2 separate regions of the Homo sapiens genome follow, and region 1 is linked to region 2. The links are contacts of gene promoters, found by promoter capture Hi-C in human tissues and cell types (Jung and others, 2019). All regions are on one chromosome and are shown on one strand. The core of a region is centred on a gene start or on the middle of the fragment in contact, and the rest is flanking DNA. Distances in the headings are between cores, read along the strand shown.

Region 1 (4,182 bases), core at 1,540-4,039, 370 kb before region 2:
AGAGGAAGAAATAATGATGATAATAAATAAAATTTAAGATCCATAAGTGCATAAGCTTTTGTGCATTTATTGGTTGAGGAGTAATCAAACTATAACTAATTTTTTTTGAGACAATCTTGCTCTGTCACCCAGGATGGAATGCAGTGGTATGATCATAGTTCACTGCAACCTCAAACTCCTGCCTCAATCTCCCAAATAGCCGGGACTACAGGTGCATGCCAATATGTCCAGCTAATTTTTAATTTTTTTTTATAGAGATGGGGGTCTCACTACATTGCCCAGGCTGATCTCATACTCCTGGGCTCAAGTGATCCTCCCACACTGGCCTCTCAAAATGCTGGGATCACTGGTGTGAGCCACTACACCTAGCCTCTTTAACTAATTCTAACTCAGTTTTTCTTCCTAAACAGAGCCCCATAGCTTATTAATTCAGCGTTTTTCCAGCCTTTGCAAGATACAGCAGAAATAACAATGGTGAATGCAAAAAACTTAATAGGAAAAATTCAAGAAGATAAATTTTGAGGTGGACTTAACCTTGTCTAGAACCAGAAAACAGACAAAACAGGTTATGCGTAGCTGCATTTACAAATTATGCAAATTCGACAGCTGTAGTTTATGCAAATCATATGTAGGCCCCTTAAGTGTATCATTAACCTACATGAGTTGCTTGGGAATTCCATACACAGAGAGGAGCAAAATTTATCTTTTCTCTTCCCCCCACTCCAAATATCATAGGAGTATTAAATTTGTAACAACTTAATATGCTTTATTGTATTTTTTCAGATAAAAACATCACATACTGCTTTGTATAATCCAATTTATTAATTCATGCTATTTTGGCCTCAGTAATTCTTATCATTTCAGTATTGCATATAAAAATCTCACAGTTGGGTAGAACATTCAATGTTGAATGTCAAAATGTATTTTTTATTTAACTAAATCTTAAGTTCTGCATGAGTCCATTCTAAACGTCATTTATGTGTCAATAAATAAAATATATACATATATATGTACTGAATAGCTAACATGCTCAAAGTATTATGAATAATACATAAAGAATGGGATAAAACATAGGAAATTAATAGGTAATCACTAAACAAAATCTTGAACAAAACTCAATAATGATTTAACAAGGTATGTATTTACTTAGAGTATTGATTGCTTGTTACAATCTAGATAACTCTACTAGGCACAGGATATATAAAAATGGGACAAAAAGGAAAACTCTTGCCATTAGGAAATTTATACTCTAGTGCAAAGTAAATTTTTGTTTTATTTGATGTTTAACTTTTGTTTTTATTCAGTTATACTTTCCTTTTATTTCTATGTGATCATTAAAAAGTGTCTCATTTAAAATATTTTGAAGAAAAGTACTAAATACTCCTTAGTTAATTAATTGTAAAGGAGTGCTGATAAAATTATTCTGTCCTTCAAATTTCAATCTAGAAAACCAAAGTATATTTTCATGAATCAAATGTTCAAATAGTAAGATTTAAGACAATCCTCTGTTGTGGAAAGCCAAATCATGATTTTTAAACACGTTGATAAAAATAAAAGGAGAAGGCTTTGGGAAAAAAATGCAAAAGTCATTCAAAGAAATGTATCATCACTCTAAAAAATGACAAAAAATAAAGTCCTCTGAAAAATGTTTTCAATCCCCAGTAGAATGAAAGAATCTATAGACTATAGACTTTTGGACCACAGAAAGCCATGACATAAAAAGAGACTGAGATAAAAAGTTCATATGAACAGATGGAAAGTAGTAAGAATAAAATTACAAAGAATACAAGGAAGCTCTAAACTCATTTGCAGAATGATAGAACTCATTTGCCCTGATAGAAGGGCAACATTTATTATATTGCATAATGACAAAATAACGATACAAAGGAAAACCTTGAGATGTGCTATTAGAATGCAGAGTCAAGAGTGGTAAGATGAAAAATAAATTGAGGAAGTAGATGATAGATGACAGCTATGAAATATAGGGATAGGGAATGCAACTTGTGGATCATTAGCATTTTTAAAGAAATGATTAAGCATATTAGAAAGTGGAAATATTCAAAGATATAATAGAAGAATATTTATCAAAACTTTACCAAAATAAATCTGTGATTAAAAGAGCCTAACATGTTATACGCTAAATCATTGAACAGATAACCAGTCTTAGACGTACCATGGGAAGTATCAGGAGAAAGAAAACTGTTTATCTCTAGATAGAAAAAATAAACAAGCAAATCAACAAGGTGGAAGAAAATATAATGGATGGTCTTTTAAAATATTATTGAGACTACAATTGAGAAAGATGTTTAGATCTTTGAGGGGGAGACATTGTCTGAGAACTTTAGAGGCAGCCACATTACATGTCAAAAGCAATGGAAAAATATACTTGAATATTGGCGAGGCACCTGTAATCCCAGCACTTTGGTAGGCCGAGGCGGGTAGATCACCTGAGGTCAGGAGTTTGAGAGCAGCCTGGCCAACATGGCGTAACCTGTCTCTACTAAAATACAAAAATTAGCCGGGCGTGGTTGCGTGCGTCTATAATCCCAGCTACTCGGGAGGCTGAGGCAGGAGAACCACTGCCTCAATGTCAAGTTGGCAACATCTATCACTACTTGTGGAAATTTACTTCCGTTTGATGTAGTAGTTCTACTTTTCAGAATTGTTTCAAAAACTATCATGTGTTAATGCAAAAATACATCTCTTGTAATGTTCATTATGAAATTGATAACCAAAACTGGAAAGAAACCCAGTCTTCATCCATAAGTTGTGAGTAAAATAAGTGATGGTACAACCATTTGATGGAATACTAAGACGATATGAAAAATGATGTGAAATGCTCATAAGTCATTGTTAAGTAAAAAAACACATCTTCATTAGGATTCATCTTATGTTTGTGTGAAAATGTCATAATAGATGTATTCATAAGTTATTAATGTTAATTTACAGATGGGTGATTACGAGTGACCTTTATTTTCTCAAACAAAAACATATTTGTTCAAAATATTTAAAGAAATTTATTATTTTATGGTATGTAAAACAAGCTGCTCAACAAAATGTTATTTTAAAAGAGCATTGAGACAGCATATATTTAGTGCAACTTATATACAACAATAAAGATGTATATTTTACTGGACTATACACTTAACAAAAGAAAGCAAAATCTTTTTAAGGTTGGGTCATGGATTGTTACAGAGTTTTCAATTTCAGAAATATTTTGTATTCATTGTTTCATACAAGAACACTACGTGATGGATTTATATTGGAAGCAAAAATAAGGACACTCAAAGAAAATCAACACAGTGCACAAAACTGTGAAGATTCTTACAGACGATGGCTAACATATTAGAGTCACTTGTAACATGGTGCTTTCATGGCCTTTACACACCATTTATCACATAAGAAAGATTATCCCAACTTTTAGAAAATTATTACTCTCCCCACTTTACTTTAGCAAAACATCTTTCAATTACCCTAAAAATGTTTAAGTTAGCTATATTTGTGGGCACATTTTCTGTTTAGCACCTCTGTTCTTTTATTATTTTATTTACGGAGTATGGGGTTGACAGACTGAGTGATCCTGAAATCTGTAACATGAGCATGTACGTTTTATAATGCTGAAATATTGCATAGGAATACAAGATGGTTAACCTCATTGTTAGGAAACACTCTTCATTAAGTTCAGTGATATTTGTGTTTCTGTAAAAAGAGATTGCTTATCTATTATCAGTTGATCCAATTTCTGGCACCTGAGTGAAAACTATTTTTTTTCCATTAAATCTGGTCAGTGTGTTTGGGAAGAAATTGCAGTACATTGCCCAGAGGTTCCAAAACTCTTTGTTCATATATCCTTTATTTAATGCCTCAGGAATTTTCCCTCAGCAATCCTAAGTCAAAAAAAAAAAATACATTGAAGTCTAGTTTATTATGTAGAAGTACAAATAACTTAATAAATATTTATATCAAGCAACATAGAAATCATTTGAAAAATAACACAAATACACTATAAGAAAAAAATTTTAATTTCTTCCACAATTAAAAATTTGCTTAAAAATAATGACAAAATAATGATACAAAGGAAAAGCTTGAGATGTGCTATTAGAAATTTAGAGGCAGCCACCAATACTTAAAAATTTATTTTACTTTTAAATTTTATTTTTATTTGCATACCTGTTGGACACT
Region 2 (3,838 bases), core at 758-3,257:
CTGGAGATTGGAGACTCAATCAGGAAGAGCCCAATAGCAGTAGTCTGCCAGTACCATTATATTTTGCTAGCATACTGGGCTGAAAATCTCCATTCTGTTCATCTGCTCTGGTCCAACTTCAAACATTTTTCCTAAGAAAGGTTGAGAGCTGATTGTTCCAGATCAAAGACATCATCATTTCAAGGCGAGCTATGTGCTTCCATTTCATCAGTATAGTTTCCAACCATTCCACACCAACTTCAAGGCAAGTTGAGCAAGTTCAGAAGCTATGGTTAGGTGGCAATGATATGCTTAAAAGATTATCACCAATAAGTGTCAGATTTCCTAAAGGAACTCAGATTAGTCCCACCACTGGTAGAGGAAATAACACGTGTAGGTATGTTACAAAGGCTAGAATCTGGCTGCCAACAGCAGGTTGAATAGAAACACTGCAGTTCATTCCCCTGTTCTTTCCTATAATGAAGCAATATTTTTTGTCAATTCATAATCTGCTTCATGTAAATACAATAACTAAATCTCCCAATGCAACATTCTGCCTATTTGCTTGGCATTGGGATCTGGGTTTCTTTCTCTCTTTCTCTCTCTCTCTCTCTCTCTCTCTCTCTCTCTCTCTCTCTCTCTCTTATTTAAACTAAAAAGCTGAACTATACCAGTCAATATAAGCTCATTTTCTGATTTTAAAAAAATCTATGATACTTCTGATTTTACTTTAACCAGTTAACCATTCCAAGGCCAGGGCCAGTGCCCCAAATATTCATCTAGTATTTTCCTCCCTTTTTCACCAGTGCATCTGTTGTCAAAGATTATTAAACTCGCACAGGGATTCTTGATTTTCCAGATGAAAAGTTTATAGAATCCCGGCTTTTTCTAATTCCTACCTCCTTTCTCCTCTGCTCCCCATATCCATTCCCTTCTAAACTTCTACCATTCACCAGCTGCTTGGAGAAAAAGGAAAAGCAAAGCGCCAGACTGGAGAGAGGCACTCCAGGGGTGGGTTAGCCCCTCAGAGCACCTGGGCTGTGTCACAGACCCTCATAATCGAAAAGTCAATTTCAAGCAGGTGCGTGCGCCCGGAATCGTCCTAAAAGCCTCTCTGCTGATGACAGGACTCTGACCCCAGTCTGCCCCCAGGAAGGGGCTATAGAAACGAAAGGGGCCTGAATCGGCGCTTTCGCCGCTCCACGGACCTCGAATGCAGCAGGTAAGGAAGTTAACCTGGGAGCTAAGTTGAGGGCGGACACGCTTAACGCGGAGAACCTGGAGCTCGCAAAAGCTCGCAGTTGAGGGCCATCGCGGAGGGAAGTCTTTCGGAAATGCGAATTCTCATTCCAACATCTGCAGCGCTTAGAATTCGCGGACAGAAGCGCACAGCCAAGTGCACACACTCCCGGAGGGGACAAAATGGGGACCGGGAAACGGCCAAAGGGAAAAGCTGTGGGGGTGCCGAGGACTCAGGCACTTGGTTCAGAAATCCCGCACCGCACCTCTCACCCCCGCACAGGGCCAGCGCACGGTGGTCACCCGGTCCCGGGGAGCGGAGCTGCAAGGACTTAAGTTTCACACTCACTTATCTGCAAGCATCGCCCAGCAGGAAAGCCAAGGAAGTCAGGGGAGGGGAGCGGGGAGGTGTTCTCCTTACCTCGGTCGGCTCCCACGGTCAGCACCCTGGCAATCGGCAATAATCCCGAGAGAGTGAGTAAGGCGAGGAGAAACTCGGACATTGTGGTCGCCCGGTAAGGAAGCCTGCGCTGGAGACTGCTCGGCGGCACCTTCGGCCCGGCGGCGGCGGCGGCGGCAGGGGCCGCTTGGAGCCTGGAATCGAGCGGCGTCATTTACAAATGTCACTGGAAATTCTTCAGCTCAATGAGTCCAGCCAGTCAGCCTTCTCCTGCCTGGAGCAGGATGTGGAAGGTGGAGGGATGCGCGCGTGCGGGAGAGAGGAGGCAGAGCGTGTGTGAGCGCGAGCGAGACGCCCGTGTGTCTTGACTTTTCAATGCAGGGTACGTCTGATCTTACATCACGCAAGAGGGGCAGTGAGAGATGCCAGCGGATGGGAATTCACTGATTAATCACCGAATCCACCACACACCCCTTCGTCGTTCACATAAATCACATCTATTACTTAATAAGAGGCATTTAACACAACAGGAAAATACCACCGCGAACGGAGAGCGCCACAAATCACAATTATTTTAATCCCCTTGAAGGGAAAGTAACTCGAAGCTGGTTCTGTGGGGATTTGGGTCTTTGGAGAAGGGAGAGACTTCTGCATTGGCCTGAGCCAGCCAGGCGCCTACAATGCTCCGCAGTTCACAGCCAGCTGAGAACCCTCAGCCGAGCACAGGGCTGCTTCTGCAGGCAAAACAAAGCTTCTCCCTTCGTTCCTCGGAAGCTTCCTTCCCGGGAAGGAAGGACAAGCCAAGGAACAGAGCTTCTCTTAGGGAAATGGTTTCCTCGGCTCTACACAGAATCCCAGTACTTCCTGAATTGCACTTTTAACTTTTATGCTGAGCAGCACCTGGGGACAAAGAGGCAAAATTTAGTGACTCAGCAGAAACAGAAAGCAAAACAACCCCCAAAGTCATTAACCGTTGCGTAAGAAGGGAAGGTTAATGGAAAAGGCTATTGAGGTCCCCAGGCAGGGAACAATAAAGCAACGAATTGGCAGCGTTTTTCTCTGGGGTTCTGTCTTTAAAAGGGTACTTCGAGCCATTTTAAACAGGCTTTGAGGGTTTTGTTGTTTTTGTTTTGTGTTTTGTTTTGTTTTCCTTTTCCATATACTACAGGGGCGGTGTAAGAACTTTCCCGAGCCATCGGAGGCATCAACGGGAATCACTGGAATAATAATATTAGTAAAGTTGTTTTTATGACCACTTAAGTTTACAACATGATCATCCCAGTCCCTAAAATTTTAGTTTGCCATTACAAAGTGGCTACGGAATTAAAACTCAGAAATCTTAATAGTTGTAGACTTACTTTCTTCCTTGTAACATCAGGAATTCTCTTCTAAGAACAAGAGTTGAAAAGGTTTTATATTTAATATTTTGAAACTGGACATGAGTGGAGAGGAAAACTATGAGAAGGGAACAGAACTAAGGAAGAGAACGATTGAAAAGTGAAGGAAGATGCTTTAAAAGCTTTATTTACTTTGCTGTTTGAGACTTATAAGTGAATGCCAGCATTACTATCTACCTATTTATGAGAGTAAAATTATCCAGAAATATCTTTAGATGCTCCTTTGAAGCCATTAAAAACTGGACTAGATGAAAGAACACAGAGATGACTTTGCAGAACATTGTCAATAATCTGTGGATTTCACCTTTTTATTCTTACTCTGTGATTATAAATGTATTTTATGTCACTTTTTCCATGTTTTAAATTATAAAGTTTACTTTCCCTTGAAAATACAACCATTTTGTGTTTGAAATATGACTCCTACATTCAAAAGTGTATGCTTAATTTTTTTTTTTTTTTTTGAGACGGAGTCTCTCTCTGTTGCCCAGGCTGGATTGCAGTGGCGCGATCTCGGCCCACTGCAAGCTCCACCTCCCGGGTTCACGCCATTCTCCTGCCTCAGCCTCCGGAGTAGCTAGGACTACAGGCGCCCACGACCATGCCCGGCTAATTTTTTTGTACTTTTAGTAGAGAAGTGTATGCTTCTTTTCTTCTAAAGTTGTTACATGTCTAATTTTTCCTAGATGTTTTTATTATTTCATAATATAGTGTACAATATAGAATAAAAAGATTTTTTTACATATTTTACTTCATACTGAAAATTCACAAACTTTGAAATGAGTGGCAGAGTTTAAAGAATATGTGTGTGTGCGCGCGTGTGTGT

What was found. Contacts are between HindIII fragments. The study calls those that stand out against the background at their distance.
Region 1: a fragment that was not itself captured here is called in contact with the fragment with the promoter of LRP1B in region 2 in 1 of the 25 tissues and cell types used here (hippocampus).

What each region holds. Positions count from the first base shown.
Region 1 is chr2:141,757,466-141,761,647 of GRCh38, forward strand. All of the region lies in intron 2 of LRP1B (LDL receptor related protein 1B), which reads right to left. All of the region lies in intron 3 of LOC107985779 (a long non-coding RNA gene), which reads left to right. Among named protein-coding and RNA genes, the nearest start is that of LRP1B, 370 kb to the right of the region's middle. The HindIII fragment of the contact is 6,492 bases long and covers 1-4,182 here.
Region 2 is chr2:142,129,009-142,132,846 of GRCh38, forward strand. It overlaps LRP1B (LDL receptor related protein 1B), which reads right to left and starts at 2,008. Exons shown (of 91, transcript NM_018557.3): 1 at 1,640-2,008. The coding sequence starts at 1,721. RefSeq lists an enhancer at 1,876-3,075. The HindIII fragment of the contact is 3,160 bases long and covers 928-3,838 here.